Linked DNA regions of Homo sapiens: region 1 is linked to region 2. Evidence: promoter capture Hi-C in human tissues and cell types (Jung and others, 2019). All regions are on one chromosome and are shown on one strand. The core of a region is centred on a gene start or on the middle of the fragment in contact, and the rest is flanking DNA. Distances in the headings are between cores, read along the strand shown. Region 1 has its middle 41 kb from the start of AVPR1A. Region 2 holds the start of C12orf56 (chromosome 12 open reading frame 56).

The links. The method cuts DNA at HindIII sites, captures the fragments that hold promoters and counts their contacts. A contact is called where the count stands out against the background at its distance.
Region 1: a fragment that was not itself captured here is called in contact with the fragment with the promoter of C12orf56 in region 2 in 1 of the 25 tissues and cell types used here (H1 embryonic stem cells).

What each region holds. Positions count from the first base shown.
Region 1 is chr12:63,106,596-63,113,795 of GRCh38, forward strand. No RefSeq gene overlaps it. Among named protein-coding and RNA genes, the nearest start is that of AVPR1A, 41 kb to the right of the region's middle. The HindIII fragment of the contact is 4,430 bases long and covers 2,354-6,783 here.
Region 2 is chr12:64,385,729-64,392,617 of GRCh38, forward strand. It overlaps C12orf56 (chromosome 12 open reading frame 56), which reads right to left and starts at 5,030. Exons shown (of 13, transcript NM_001170633.2): 1 at 4,586-5,030. The coding sequence starts at 4,837. The HindIII fragment of the contact is 10,638 bases long and covers 1-6,889 here.

The DNA.
Region 1 (7,200 bases), core at 3,319-5,818, 1.3 Mb before region 2:
CCTAGATGCCCCGCATGCACAGTTCAAAACAGGGTTCACACTCCTATGAGAATCTAATGCTGCCACGGATCTGACAGTTGGTGGAGCTCAGGCAGTGATGCTCGCTCACCTAACCACCTCTCACCTCCTACCGTGCGGCCTGGTTCCTAACAGGACATAGACCAGTACTGGGTGTTGGGGACCCCTGTTGTAAGGGATAAAAAGAGTCAAGGTTTATGTTCTTAGGGGGCTTAAATATCTTTTAAGCAGTAGTATGACAGTAAAATAGACCAGAAGGCCAGACAAAATATATTTTACCTTCCTGAAAATGTTCATTTTTAAGAAGCATTGAAACAGTAAATAAAACCCTAATGCATAATAATTAGCAGATTCGTAAATACTCACATTCGCCAGATCAAAAAATTAATTTATCAATGTGAGAGAGCCCTGGCAAGGAAATCCATTTTTCCCTCCTACCCGACCTTTCCAGAAGTGTCTTTTTGCTTGCTGAAGGTCGGTCTGTCACCCTAGTCCCTTGATCACTTTCTGCAGTTTCCTCCGTGGTGTTGCTTCATCATTTATTCACTCATGTATCCATTTAGCAGACATTTATTGGATACCTACGTGTCGGGTAAGTCATTAAGACTGAGGAGAAGACAAGAAAAAGATACATTCCAAGGCAGCAAGGAGGTCATGGGTGAGATTTCCTTTATCTTGCATCTTTTTGTTGTGAGTGGCTTCTCTGCAGGTTCCAACCTGCTCACAGATCCTCCGTCTTGATTTTTCCTCTGGCCGTGGAACTACCAGTTCTCCTCCTTGCCCACCTCCAGCATTGTCCTACTTTTCTTCCCTTCTCATTCAGGCCCCTTTGAGGGTCCTCTTACTCTCACTGTGTCCCCCTTCTCACCTGCTTTCACTTATCAACTCTCGATTTGGCTTCAGTCCTATCATTCCACTAAATCCTCTGCCAATGTCAGCATCAAAAGCATTCATCTTGCCAAACCCGTTGCTTATTTTCCTGCCTTTATCTTTTTGGACTGTTCTGCTGCATTTTCTTTCTTCTTCACACTCTGTGCCTTTGGCATTTATGAACCTCTCCTCTCAGTCCCCTTCCCGGCTGTTGTTGGGTAACTTCTTCCTGCTTCTTTGGTCGTCTTCCTGAGCTGTTACTCCCTTGCGTCTCCTCTGTCGTTCTGAGCTTCTTCCTCAGTACATGCTCTCCTTAACAAATACCATTTGCTCTTATAGTCTTAGATTCCCATCCTGATTAATGGAGCCTGCTATTAATCAGGTTGTACGTAAAACTTCCTGCTGTGTATATCTGCTTCTATATCAACCTGTCTACTGGTTATATTGACTTGACGTATCCCAGGTATCTAAACTCCAAGTGTTGAAACTAGAACTCATTGTCTTCCCCATCCTATTAGAAACCTGCTCCTTCTCTATGATTTCATTACCTTCCTCTTTCTCCTTCTTCCGCACATTTCGTCAATCACCAAGCCACAATGATCCTCTGTATATTTATTTCTTGAATTGAGCCCTCCACCTTCATTGCTAGTACCATTGCTGTGGTTCAGGCCACTGTCATCCCTTGCTTACATCACTTAGAGCTTTTCAGTCTATGCTATACTATGTCACGCCTCCACGCCTTTAGCTGTATTCTTTGCCTGAAGTGCCCTTTCTTAAACTGGTAGGTTTCTTCATCCTTCAAGACTTTCTAGGAAGTCTTTCCTGAACTGTACAAGCTTTTCTTTTACTACATCGATTTAAAAAATAAAAAAAATATATTTATGTATCTTAAAAAACTCCCAGAAGATAGTAAATTCTGTGAGAATAGGGACCATGCTTTATTGGTTTTTGTTCTCCTGGTCCTTAACTCAGTGCCTGGCTATAGTAGGCTTTGAACCTAAATGCAATTAAGATTTTCCCATTTGGTTGCAATCTACAAGCTTTAGTACAGCACAAGATGCTTAGCCTTTTTCACTTATAAACAAACTGAGAGCTTCCTGCACATGGGCACTGTTCAAGAATGAGCCTACTGTATGCTGGGAACTGTGAGTGAATTACTATGGCCATAGTGTGGTGTGGGAGGAAAAAACTGGAGAAGTAATCCAGGCCAGATCATGAAGGGCTGTGAACACAACAGCATCGTCAGAAGGAATATTTGGTAGCAGAGTGAAAAAGGATGATGGGGGCAAGATTGGAAGCACAGAAGTCTTTTTGTAAAAATAAATTTGTTATGGAGATCACATTTCATTCTGATGTGTCCATTTGGGTTGTACTAACTTTTCAATAGTTTTTAATTGTTGCTTTAAAGTATTTACTGAATTGTATTGATTCATGTATTCATTCCGCAATCCTTAGTGACCATTACTGCCACGTATTATATATACAATATTTTGGGGGTCTCAGAATAATACATACTGTCCTTGGCCTCAAGAACTCATTGCCTAGTAGTAGCACTGGACACAGCAATAGAAAAATGTGATTCAGTATCAGTTCTACGGGAAGGGTGAGCACAGATTATGGAACATTAAATGGGAATGGCCTCTTAGATGGGAGCCTGGTGAGCCAGAGGAGGCCATCCAGAGCAGTGGTTCTGCGCTAAAATTTTGAAAGATAAGCAAGAATGAACCTCTTGAATAAGCTGGAGATCTGCCAGACTACTCCGGGCATGGGGAGCAGCTTGTGCAAAGACCCAGATGAGACAACTGAGTTTCTAGTGGCTGCAATTTATTGTGCTCGTGGAAGTAGGACCAGGGATGAGGTAAAGAGGTAAACAGGCATCTTATGTTAAAGCTTAATTTTTTTTTTTTTGAGACAGGGTCTTACTCTGTTGCTTAGGTTGGAGTGCAGTGGTGCAAACATGCACAGCTCACTCCAGCTTTGACCTCATGAATTCAAGTGATTTTTCTGCCTCAGCCTCCCTAGTAGCTGGGACTACAGGTATACACCACCACACTCGGCTAATTTTTGTATTTTTTGTAGAGATGGGGTTTTGCCATGTTGCCCAGGCTGGTCTCAAACTCCTGGGCTCAATTGATCCACCCACCTTGACCCCACAAAGTGCTGGAATTACAGGCATGAGTCACCGTGCCTAGGCAAAGCTTAAATTTTATCTTGCAGAGGATGTCATAGAAGAAAAATTCTGACCCACTTTCATTAATGGATTAGACAGAACAAGGTAATAGCTGTGCTACATAATTAAGAGACTGAAATGTAAACAATAAAACAAGACAATGACAAAATCACCACAGCTTTTTGGTAGAAATATTCTTAGAGAAGAAAAGTTAGTTGATATTTTTCTGGTCACCAATCCATATTTCTTAGTTTGGATCTGTTTCTGGCTCATACTCAAAAATGGAATCCAACAAATCCTGCCATTCCCTAGAGGACCAATAGTTCCTGTAATAACTATTCTCATGACATTTCCTGGATATGATACACTCTCTAGTCCCATATTTACAGATTTATAAGCCAATGTCTTTCTTCAGTGATTTTCTTGCATCCTCATGACATCATGCAATATGCCTCACAGCAAGGTAACAACTAGCCTGGTGGAAAAAGCAAAGGAGTCTCTAACGGGAACATTTCCTAACTGACACAGTATCTCCATCCATTACAACAGATTTGGTCAAAGCTTATTTTTTGTTCCAGAACAACTTGAGTTTCTCAGAATCCTGTATAATGTACCTCTAAACAAAATAATTACTCACCTAGCGAAAGTGGCCAGGATGTCTCTACTGGTTACATTCTTCCATGGGGCTGAGAGACGTAGCCCTATCAGAGAAGGAAGAGGAAAGAATATATTTTAGAATTTAACATCCTCAGTGTGATTTTATTTTCTGTACTAAGATTGTTATGAATTAGATCACGCTCTTTTCAGATGGAAAGAACATCTCTTCCTGAGTCATTGGTGGGTGTTTCCTGTAATTGACCTTTGGGACCGTGGAAGAAGCCAAACACCTTCCTTTGCCATAGGATAGAACATTGTATGTTTAGATTCTCTGAGTGGATTTTGTATATATTTCTGTCTGGATGACTTTTTAAAAACATACATTAATCTATCTTTATTGAGTACTATTACCTTGCAGTCACAAGCAGCCCAAAATGTAGAATATATGCTATTTAAAAGAACTTTTTAAAAAATTATACTTTAAGTTTTGGGATACATGTGCAGAACGTGCAGCTTTGTTACATAGGTACACACGTGCCATGGTGTTTTGCTGCACCCATCAACTCGTCATCTACATTAGGTATTTCTCCTAAGGCTATCCCTCCCCTAGACCCTCACCCCGTGACAGGCCCCTGTGTGATGCACCCTTCCCTGTGTCCATGTGTTCTCATTGTTCAGCTCCTAGTCATGAGTGAGAACATGCAGTGTTTGGTTTTCTGTTCCTGTGTTAGTTTGCTGAGAATGATGATTTCCAGCTTCATCCATGTCCCTGCAAAGGACATGAACTCATCCTTTTTTATGGTTGCATAGTATTGCATGGTGTATACGTGCCACATTTTCTTTATCCAGTCTATCATTGATGGGCATTTGGGTTGGTTCCAAGTCTTTGCTATTGTGAACAGTGCTGCAATAAACATATGTGTGCATGTGTCTTTATAGTAAAATGATTCATAATCCTTTGGGTATATACCCCATAATGGGATTGCTGGGTCAAATGGTGTTTCTGGTTCTAGATCCTTGAGGAATCGCCACACTGTCTTCCGCAATGGTGTAACTAATTTACACTCGCACCAACAGTGTAAAAGCAGGAAGATAATTCTTTTTTATTCAATTTTTAAAAATATTATTATGCCTACACATAAGCTGTCACATTTTCCTTAGTATGTTCATTATACTTTGGCCCATGGAAACCAATCAGTAAATGAATAATAGATAATTGAAAGCATTTTTAAAAGTCATCTTTATCTCTCAGAACAGCTTTAGATTTACAGAAAAAAATTGTGATGATAGTATAGAGTCCCCACATTTTCCCCTCATTCAGTTTTCTCTATTATTAACATCTTAGTATGGTACATTTGTTACAATTAATCAATGCTGTCACATTATTATTAATTAAAGTCCATAGTTTATTCAGATTTCCTTAGTTTTTACCGAACAACCATGTTAGTTATTTATTTTTACATTGACATGTAACAGATGTACATAGTTCTCAGGGCATATGTGACAATTTACGATGTTCATAAAATGTGTAAACATTAAATCAATGTACTTTAAATAAATATCATCTTAAATATTTTTCTTTTCTTTAGAACCATTTGAATTATTCTAACTACTTTGAAACAATACCTAGATTATTGTAAGCCATAGGCACCTTACGGATCTGATACTAGGTCTTATTTCTTCTATCAAACCATATATTTGTACCGATTCATCAACTTTTCTTCATACCACTCTTTCCACTACCCTTCTCAGGGTAATGTCCATTTTCTATTCTAGGATCCCTTCCTAGATACCTCATTACATTTAGTTTTCATGTCTCCTTAGGCTCCTGGTGGTGACAGTTTCTCAGTCCTGTCTTATTTTGGATGACTTTAATGTTTTGAGGTGTCTCAGTCAAGCATTTTGTAGGATGCTCCTCTATTGGAATTTGTCTGATGTTTCTCTCATGGTTAGAATGGGGTTAAGGGTTTTGAAAAAAAAACCACAGAGGTAAAGTACATTCTCATCATATCATATTCGAGGGTACATACTATCAAGATGCTTTATCACTGTTGCTGTTCTCCTTAATCCCCTGGCTCAGGTAGTGTTTGCTAGCTTTCTCCACTGTAAAGTTACGTTTTCTCCCCTCTCCACTAGCACTCTTTGGAAGTGAGTCACTCCGCACAGCCCACGCTGAAGAGGTGGGGATTTACGCTCCTTATCCTTAGGGAAGATTTGTTTCTTCTCCCCCATCTAGTTATTTATTAAGTAGTTTATTTATTTTTGTATTGACTTATGGAAATTTAATTTCTAGTTGGGCTTAATTTGTTGCTAAAGTTGTTTCAACATTGGCCATAGTGAACTCTCTCAGTTGGCTCCTGTGTCCATTTGATTCCTAAACTTGTATGTTCCTGTCTATGCAGGGTTGTTTTTTTTCTTTCTGTTGAGTACTTCCTAAGTTTCTAGCCCCATAAGAGGCTCCAAGCTCATTTTATGTAATTCCCACCTGAGTTCTAGAATGAGACATTTCTTCAAGGCACCCTGATTTCTTTACCTGGAGAACAGTACTAGAAAACAAGACCTTCATGTTCATTGTGCTTGTTGTTACCTTGGTATTATTGCTTTTAGACCTTCTCAACTGAAAGAGCAAGGAGATACATGTTTGTATACTAACCCATGTACATACAGGTATCCATACACATTTCCATATGTAAACATTTATATTAAGTTAAACATGAGCTCATACAGATGTGTCTAACTGTTCAATTACCTCATAGATCACTGTAGCCTTCTGGCCATGCTTATCTGTAAATTCCCACTCCAACAGTGAGAAATCGTCACCTACCCTCCATCACCTAATTGTTCGGTTTTAGTATGCACGTATAGGGGTGTCTGAATTGTTAGCCCATACCTTATGGGAAATACTTTTATCAACTATTGTACAGTGCACATGTGCAGTTCTAAAAAGAATGGCTTCCATCTCATTCAGCACCCTTTCTGGCTACCTTCTTCATGGAGGATGTTTCATACATTTCTGATATAGTCAGATTCTCTTGTTACAGTCTGTATTCCTTCCTGAATCTTCCAACTTGCTAAATGATTATTTTTAATTTGCATGCATTAAAGTTCAGTCTTTCTTCTGTAAAGTTCTATAGGGTTTGACAAATGAATAATGTCATATACTCACCATGAAAAACCCCATGCTTTACCTATTTAAATGTTCTATTGAACATTCCATCCCCAAACTGCAGAATATACACTTTTCTTATCTGCATATGGAAAATTCTCCAAAATCAACCATATGCTTGTTCATGGCAAGTCTCAATAAATTCAAAAAAATCAAAATCATATCAAGTATTTGCTTGCACCACAGTGGAATAAAATTAGGAACTCTCAAAACCACACATGCACATGGGAAGTAAACAAATTGCTCTTGAATGACTTTTGGGTAAACAACAAAGTTAACGCAGAAATGAAAAAGTCTTTTTTAAATGAATGAAAATAGAGACACAATATACAAAAACCTCAGGAATACAGCAAAAGTGATGCTAAGAAGAAAGTTTATA
Region 2 (6,889 bases), core at 3,780-6,279:
CAAGTTGTCCTTAAAAACTCTGATCCCTGAATGCTCGGGGAGCCTGATCTGAGTAATAATAAAACTCCAGTCTCCTGCACAGCCTGCTCTGCATAAATTACTCTTTCTCTATTGTGATTCCCCTGTCTTGATAAACTGGCTCTGTCTAGGCAGCAGGCAAGGTGAATCCATTGGGCAGTTACAACTTTAGAATCCTCCCGAGGTGGGAGGATCATTTGAGGACAGGAGTTTGAGACCAGCCTGGGAAACATGGCAAGACCCCATCTCTATAAATAAATTAAATTAATGTGTTGGCAGGACCTTCTGGAAGCTTTAGGGGAAAATCCATTTCCTTGCCTTTTCTAGCTTCTCCAGGCCCCCTACATTCCTTGGCTAAGGCCTTCTTCCACCTTCAAAACTAGCAATGACTAGTCGAGTCTTTCTCATGCTGCATCAGTTGGCCACCGACTCTTCTTCTGCCCCTCTCTTCCACCTTTTTTGTAATTTTTAATTTTTATTTTTTTGAGACAGAGTCTCACTCTGTTGCCCAGGCTGGAGTGCAATGGCGCAATCTTGGCTCACTGCAACTTCCGCCTCCCGGGTTCAAGCGATTCTCCCACCTCAGCCTCCTGAGTAGCTGGGCTTACAGGTGTGTGCTACCACTGCTGGCTAATTTTTATATATATATATATTTTTTTTTTTTTTTGAGACGGAGTTCCACTCTTGTTGCACAGGCTGGAGTGCAATGGCGCAATCTTGGCTCACCGCAACCTCCGCCTCCCGGGTTCAAGCTATTCTCCTGCCTCAGCCTCCCAAGTAGCTGGCGTTATAGGCATGTGCCACCACGCTTGGCTGATTTTGTATTTTTAGTAGAGACGGGGTGTCTCCATGTTGGTCAGGCTGGTCTCAAACTCCCAACCTCAGGTGATCCGCCCATCTCGGCTTCCCAAAGTGCTGGGATTACAGGAGTGAGCCACCGTACCTGGCCAATTTTTATATTTTTAGTAGAGATGGGTCTTCACCACGTTGGCCAGGCTGATCTCAAACTCCTGACCTCAGGTGATCTGCCCGCCTGGGCCTCTCAAAGTGCTGGGATTACAGGTGTGACCCACTGCGCCCAGCCATAAACACATCTTTAAAAGTGTAAGAGGCCAGGTGGTCAGGAGTTTGAGACCAGCCTGACCAACATGGCGACACCCTGTCTCTACTAAAACTACAAAAATTAGCCGGGCATGGTGGTGCGTGCCTGTAGTCCCAGCTACTTAGGAGGCTGAGGTGGGAGAATTGCTTGAACCCAGGAGGCAGAGGTTCAGCAAGCCAAGATTGCACCACTGCACTCCAGCCTGGGTAACAGAGCGAGACTCTATCTCAAAAAAAAAAAAAAAAAAAAAAAAAAAAAAAAAGATGTGTTCACATTGAGCCCACCCAGATACTCCAGATTAATTTCCCTATTTCAAGGACAAATGATTAGCAACTTTAATTCCATCTGCAACCTTAATTCTCCTTTTCCATGTAACATATTCACAGGTTCCAGGGATTTAGCGTGTGCTTATCTTTGGGGCTTAATTATTCTGCCTATCGCAACTTCCAAAGTTGAACTATATTGTGCAAGATGGACATTCAAGCTACCAACAATGTTGAAAACTTAGATTTGTTCAGTACATTTATAGCCATTACACATTCTTTATGCCTGAAAGGTAAACCTTGTCCAGAAAGCATGAATAAATAAATTGGTATCCTTTTTTGTAGGATTCTTGGCTCAGGGCCAAAGGAGCTTTACAGTACTTTTTAGATTCTCACAGGTAAAAAAAAACAAAACAAAAAAACAAGCCAGGCACAGTGGCTCATGCTTGTAATGTAATGCCAACACTTTGGGAGGCCAAGGTGGGTGGATCGTTTAAGCCCAGCAGCCTGGGCAACATGGCAAAACCCTGTCTCTACAAAAAATACGAAAACTAGCCAGGCATGGTGGCACGTGCCTGTAGTCCCAGCTACTCAGAAGGGTGAGGTGGGAGAATCACTTGAGCCAGGGAGGCAGAGGTTGCAGTGAACTGAGATCGGGCCACTGCACTCCAGCCTGGGCAACAGAGCAAGGCCCTGTCTCCAAACAAAACAAAACAAAACAAAAAAACAAGAGATATATAACACTATTGACATAAATAAATGTCTCTTTTGGAGGAGAGTAACAATATCCTAAAATCATTACTTTTGTGTCAAAACAATAAATGTTTACACTGGAGACAATAGAAAAAGCTGAGCGTTCAAAGTTTTTTGTTTTTGAGACAGAGTTTTGCTCCTGTTGCCCAGTCTGGAGTGCAACGGCGCCATCTCAGCTCACTGCAACCTCTGTCTCCCTGGCTCAAGTGATCCTCCTGCCTCAGCCTCCTGAGCAGCTGAGATAACAGGCATGCGCCACCACACCCAGTGGCGCATTGGCCCAGGCTGGTCTCGAACTCCTGACCTCAGGTGATCCACCTGCCTCAGCCTCCCAAAGTGCTGGGATTACAGGCGTGAGCCACCATGCCTGGCCCCTTTTAAAGTGTTTTGTTTGTTTGTTTAGAGACAGTCTAGCTGTGTCACCCAGGCTGAAGTGCAGTGGTGAGATCATGGCTTACTGCAGCCTCGAACTCCTTAACTCAAAGTATCCTCCCACTTCAGCCTATGAAGTAGCTTGTACCACCGGCATGCACCACCATACACAGCTATTTATTTTTATTTTTGTAGAGACGGTGTCTTGCTAGGTTACCTAAGTCTCCAACTCCTAGGCTCATGTGATTCCCCTGCGTTGGCCTCCCAAAATGCTGGGATTACAGGCATGAGCCACCTTACCCAGTCTAAAGTTTTAAAAAACACTTAGTAAAGGAAATTTAAATTAAAAAAAAATTTAGTTCAAGGCCAGGTGCTGTGGCTCTTGTCTGTAGTGGATCACTTGAGCCCAGGAGTTTGAGACTAGCTTGGGCAACACTGCAAGATCCTGTCTCTACAAAAAAAAATTTTTAATTAGCCAGCTGTGATGGCATGAGCCTGTAGTCCCAGCTACTTGGGAGGCTGATGTGGGAGGATCGCTTGAGCCCTGGAGGCTGAGGCGGCAGTGAGCCGTGATGGTGCCACTGCACTCCAGCCTGGATGACAGAGTGAGACTGTCTCCAAAAAAATTGTTTTAGTTCAAGAGAATGGAAACAATGGTAGTGAGGAAAAGCAATGTTGTATCCCGAACTTTTCCTCAACAAAGAAAATAAATTGGCACAGTTACATTAGTTCACAAAGGTATTCCGAGTAGAAAAAAAATCTTTTTTTTTCATTTAATTTTATTCTTTTCTTACAGACTCGTTCAAAACAAGCCATGACTCCTCAGCAAAACAGCTCCATCAAGCGTCTCGCCAACCTCTCCCTTGGGGCTCAGTCAAGGGAATGAAAAAACGAGGCTAGACACCTGTCCCCAACGGAAAAACCAAGAACACACCTGGAGAGCAGCTCAGACAAAGGGAGCCAGGCGGGGAAAACAGTAATTGGAGAGGAGACCGTGCTTCCAGTCTGTTGCTGGTTTACAAGGTAAATCTATTCCTGGACGAAAGGGGTACAGGAACAGCACCCGAAAACCGGCGACAGGCTGTGGCAGGCCCGACGTCTTTCAAGCCCAGCTCCTAGCGTCGACGCCCCTCCTTCCAAGACGTTTCCCAGCAGGCCCTGCGCCCAGTTTGGATCAAGTGAGCCGCCTGAGATTGCCAAGCGTCCTGTGCGCATCTCATTAACGCATCTGCTTATTCATGCATTTATTCTTTTGCTGGGGAGGGGGTGGAGGGGAACGGTGTCTCACTCATTCTGTAGCTCAGGCTGGAGTGCAGGTGGGGCGATCTCGGCTCACGGCAACCTCCGCCTCCCAGGTTCAAGCGATTCTTGTGCCTCAGCCTCCCAAGTAGTTGGGATTACAGGTGCACACGACCACGCCTGGGTAATTTTTGTACTTTTGGTGGAGACGGCGTTTCACCATGTTGGCCAGCCTGGTCTCGAACCCCTGACCCCCGGTGATCTATCCACCTTGGCCTCCCAAAGTGTAAGGATTATAGGCGTGATCCACGGCACCCGGCCTTATGCATTTATTCTTATTGAGCATCTAACATGCTCTAAGCATCGGGGGCAAAAAAGTAAATGAGATATAACAGCACTTAACACACAGCATTTATTTGCACGGGTGTTGGCTTTCTAGCCCTCCAGCGACTGCTTCTAGGTAGGGGCCCTCTTTCGTTTTTGCATCCTCCGAGTCTAGCACAGTGCCTGGCACTGACTAGGTGCTTTGTTAACAAAGGAATGACTTTAAAAGGTATTTTTGATAGGGAGCTCGGTTCTCAAACCTGTAGCCCTACGTGGGGTAGGGGAGGCGGGAGAATGGGTGAACAGGCAGACACGAGGAGAATGGGAGACGTGTTTGTATTAGGAGTGCTCACAGCAATCCACAGCTTCCCTGTGTTCCTCGTTCTCAAATAAGAGGAGGGGAGTCGAGGGCAGGATGGGGCAGCCCTCCCCGCGCAGGAGGGCTGGGTTTGGGGGCCCCAGCCGGGAGTTCTCACTGCGCTCCCGAGCCCGCCTGCCCACCCGCGCCGCTCACCAGGTCAATGGCCACGACGTCCCGCAGAGCCACTACCCGCCGGATGGACTTGGGCGGGTTCTCGGTTAGGTAGACGAGCCGGTCGCTTAGCACCACATACTTGAGGATGTGGTTCTCAGAGTTGGACACCACGATGCATGGCTCGTAGGCGCGGACCGCGTCGTAGACCTCGGGCGGCAGATGCCGCCGCAGGAACACATCCAGGCGGCTGTTCCTGCGCGCGGGGAAGCCGGACGGCAAGGGGCTGGCCATGCCCGGCGCCCGCAGCGTGGCGGAGTGCTGGGACTCGAGGCCCTCAGCTCGCCCTCTCCCCGCCCCCGCGCTGGAACCCGCGCGCCACAAAGCCGCCGGCCACGCGTCGCCTCCTCTCCAGGCGCGGGGACCCGGGCCGCAACTGCAGGAATCGACGCTAGGTCGGCTTCCCTGGAGCGCCCTCCCCAGCCCTGTCCAGCCTCTCGATCTTTGTCCTAACCTCAGACGGCGATGGGCGGGGCAAGACGCTGGTCCTTCAGGCCCGAGTTGATGGGCACCTCGGGCTCATCACCGTGAAGTCCCCTGCGGCCGAAGGGCGGTGGATTTTTAGGGTCTCTCCCGCCCACCCCTAATGCCAGTCCCCACCACTGCGTACTCTGTTGCGGATCACACCATCCAATACAAACTTTATTGGTAATGGAAGCCAGCTTCAATCTGGTTTCCTGTTAGAAACTTGAAAGAGTTTAATTTACCGATTTATTTTTAACAACCCTAGAAACCTATTAAACCCAATCACACAGATTTAGCTTTTGGTTATAACATGGCCTGGCACAGCTTTCTGATATTGTCGGAGTGTAAACATAGGTCTTCTTTCTCCAACCAGTGAGAAAGGGATTTTTTTTTTCTTTTCTCTTTTTTTTTTTGAGACGCAGCTTTGCTCTTGTTGCCCAGGCTGGAGTGCAATGGCGCCATCTCGGCTCACCGCAACCTCCCCCTCCCGGGTTCAAGCGATTCTCCTACCTCAGCCTCCTGAGTAGCTGGAATTACAGGCATGCGCCACCACGCCCAGCTAATTTTGTATATTTTAGTAAAAACGGGGTTTCTCCATGTTGGTCAAGCTGATCTCCAACTCCCGACCTCAGGTAATCCGCCCGCCTCGGCCTCCCAAAGTGCTGGGATTACAGGCGTTAAGTCACCTCGCCCAGCCTTTGAGAAAGGGATTCTTCACATGAATTGATGTGAGCACACCCAAACCAACCTAAGGCATATGGTTTTGTTTCCAATGCCCAGGACAATCTATGCAGGAAGAATGAATGGGTGATGCTGGCATCTTGAAAAGTTGAAGCTGATAGACTGAAGAATGCGGATTACATACCCTGAGGCTGCAGAGGAGTAAGTATTCCTTAGTTTTTACAGGCCAAGAATAACTTACTAATTAGGTTAGAGAAATGAGAAGGGCACAACAGAAATGCTCTAAGTCAGAAGTTCCATTTTTTATTTCGAATCCTAGAAAAGTTATTCTCTTCCCCTCCCCATTGACCCAAAAACCTGATAATGAAACCATATCGTTCATTGCTGTGGCTGCCAGCAACCCTGAATCAAATTTGATATATTCTTTATATTCTCCCTTTCTACATATTTTATTATTGTATACTGTATGTTATAAGCAACTTCAAATCCCTTGTGGAAAGAAGGTATAAATATATTACAATCCATAAACAGATATTGTAGACTACACTAGTACAAAGGGAAAGAGAAATGTTTTGGTCTGGCTAAACTTTTTTTTTTTTTTTTTTTTTGAGACAGAGTCTCCCTCTGTCACCCAGGCTGGAGTGCAGTGGCATGATATCGGCTCACTGCAGCCTCTGCCTCCTGGGTTCAAGCCATTCTCCTGCCACAGCCTCCCAAGTAGCTTGGACTACAGGTGTACACCACCATGCCTGGCTAATTTTTTTTCTGTGTGTATTTTTAGTAGAGACAGGATTTCACCATCTTGGCCATGGCTTGTCTCCTGACTTCAACTGATCTGCCTGCCTTGACCTCCCAAAGTGCTGGGAATACAGGCATGAACCACCGCCATGTAAGGGTCTGGCTAGACTTAAGTCTAAGATCATGTTAAGGAACTCAAGTGAGTAAAGAGAAGTGCCACCTGCTGGCAAAATCTTAAATGACCTAGTAGTTAAAGTTTTCTTAGGATCTCATCACACATCTGAGCCTTCCTAACTTCATAAATGGATGAAAAATGAATGAACTACACCATCCGTAGCAACCTTTATTGATAAAAGATGCCGCATGGCTATTTCCTCCAAAATAAAGACTACTCATTATCTA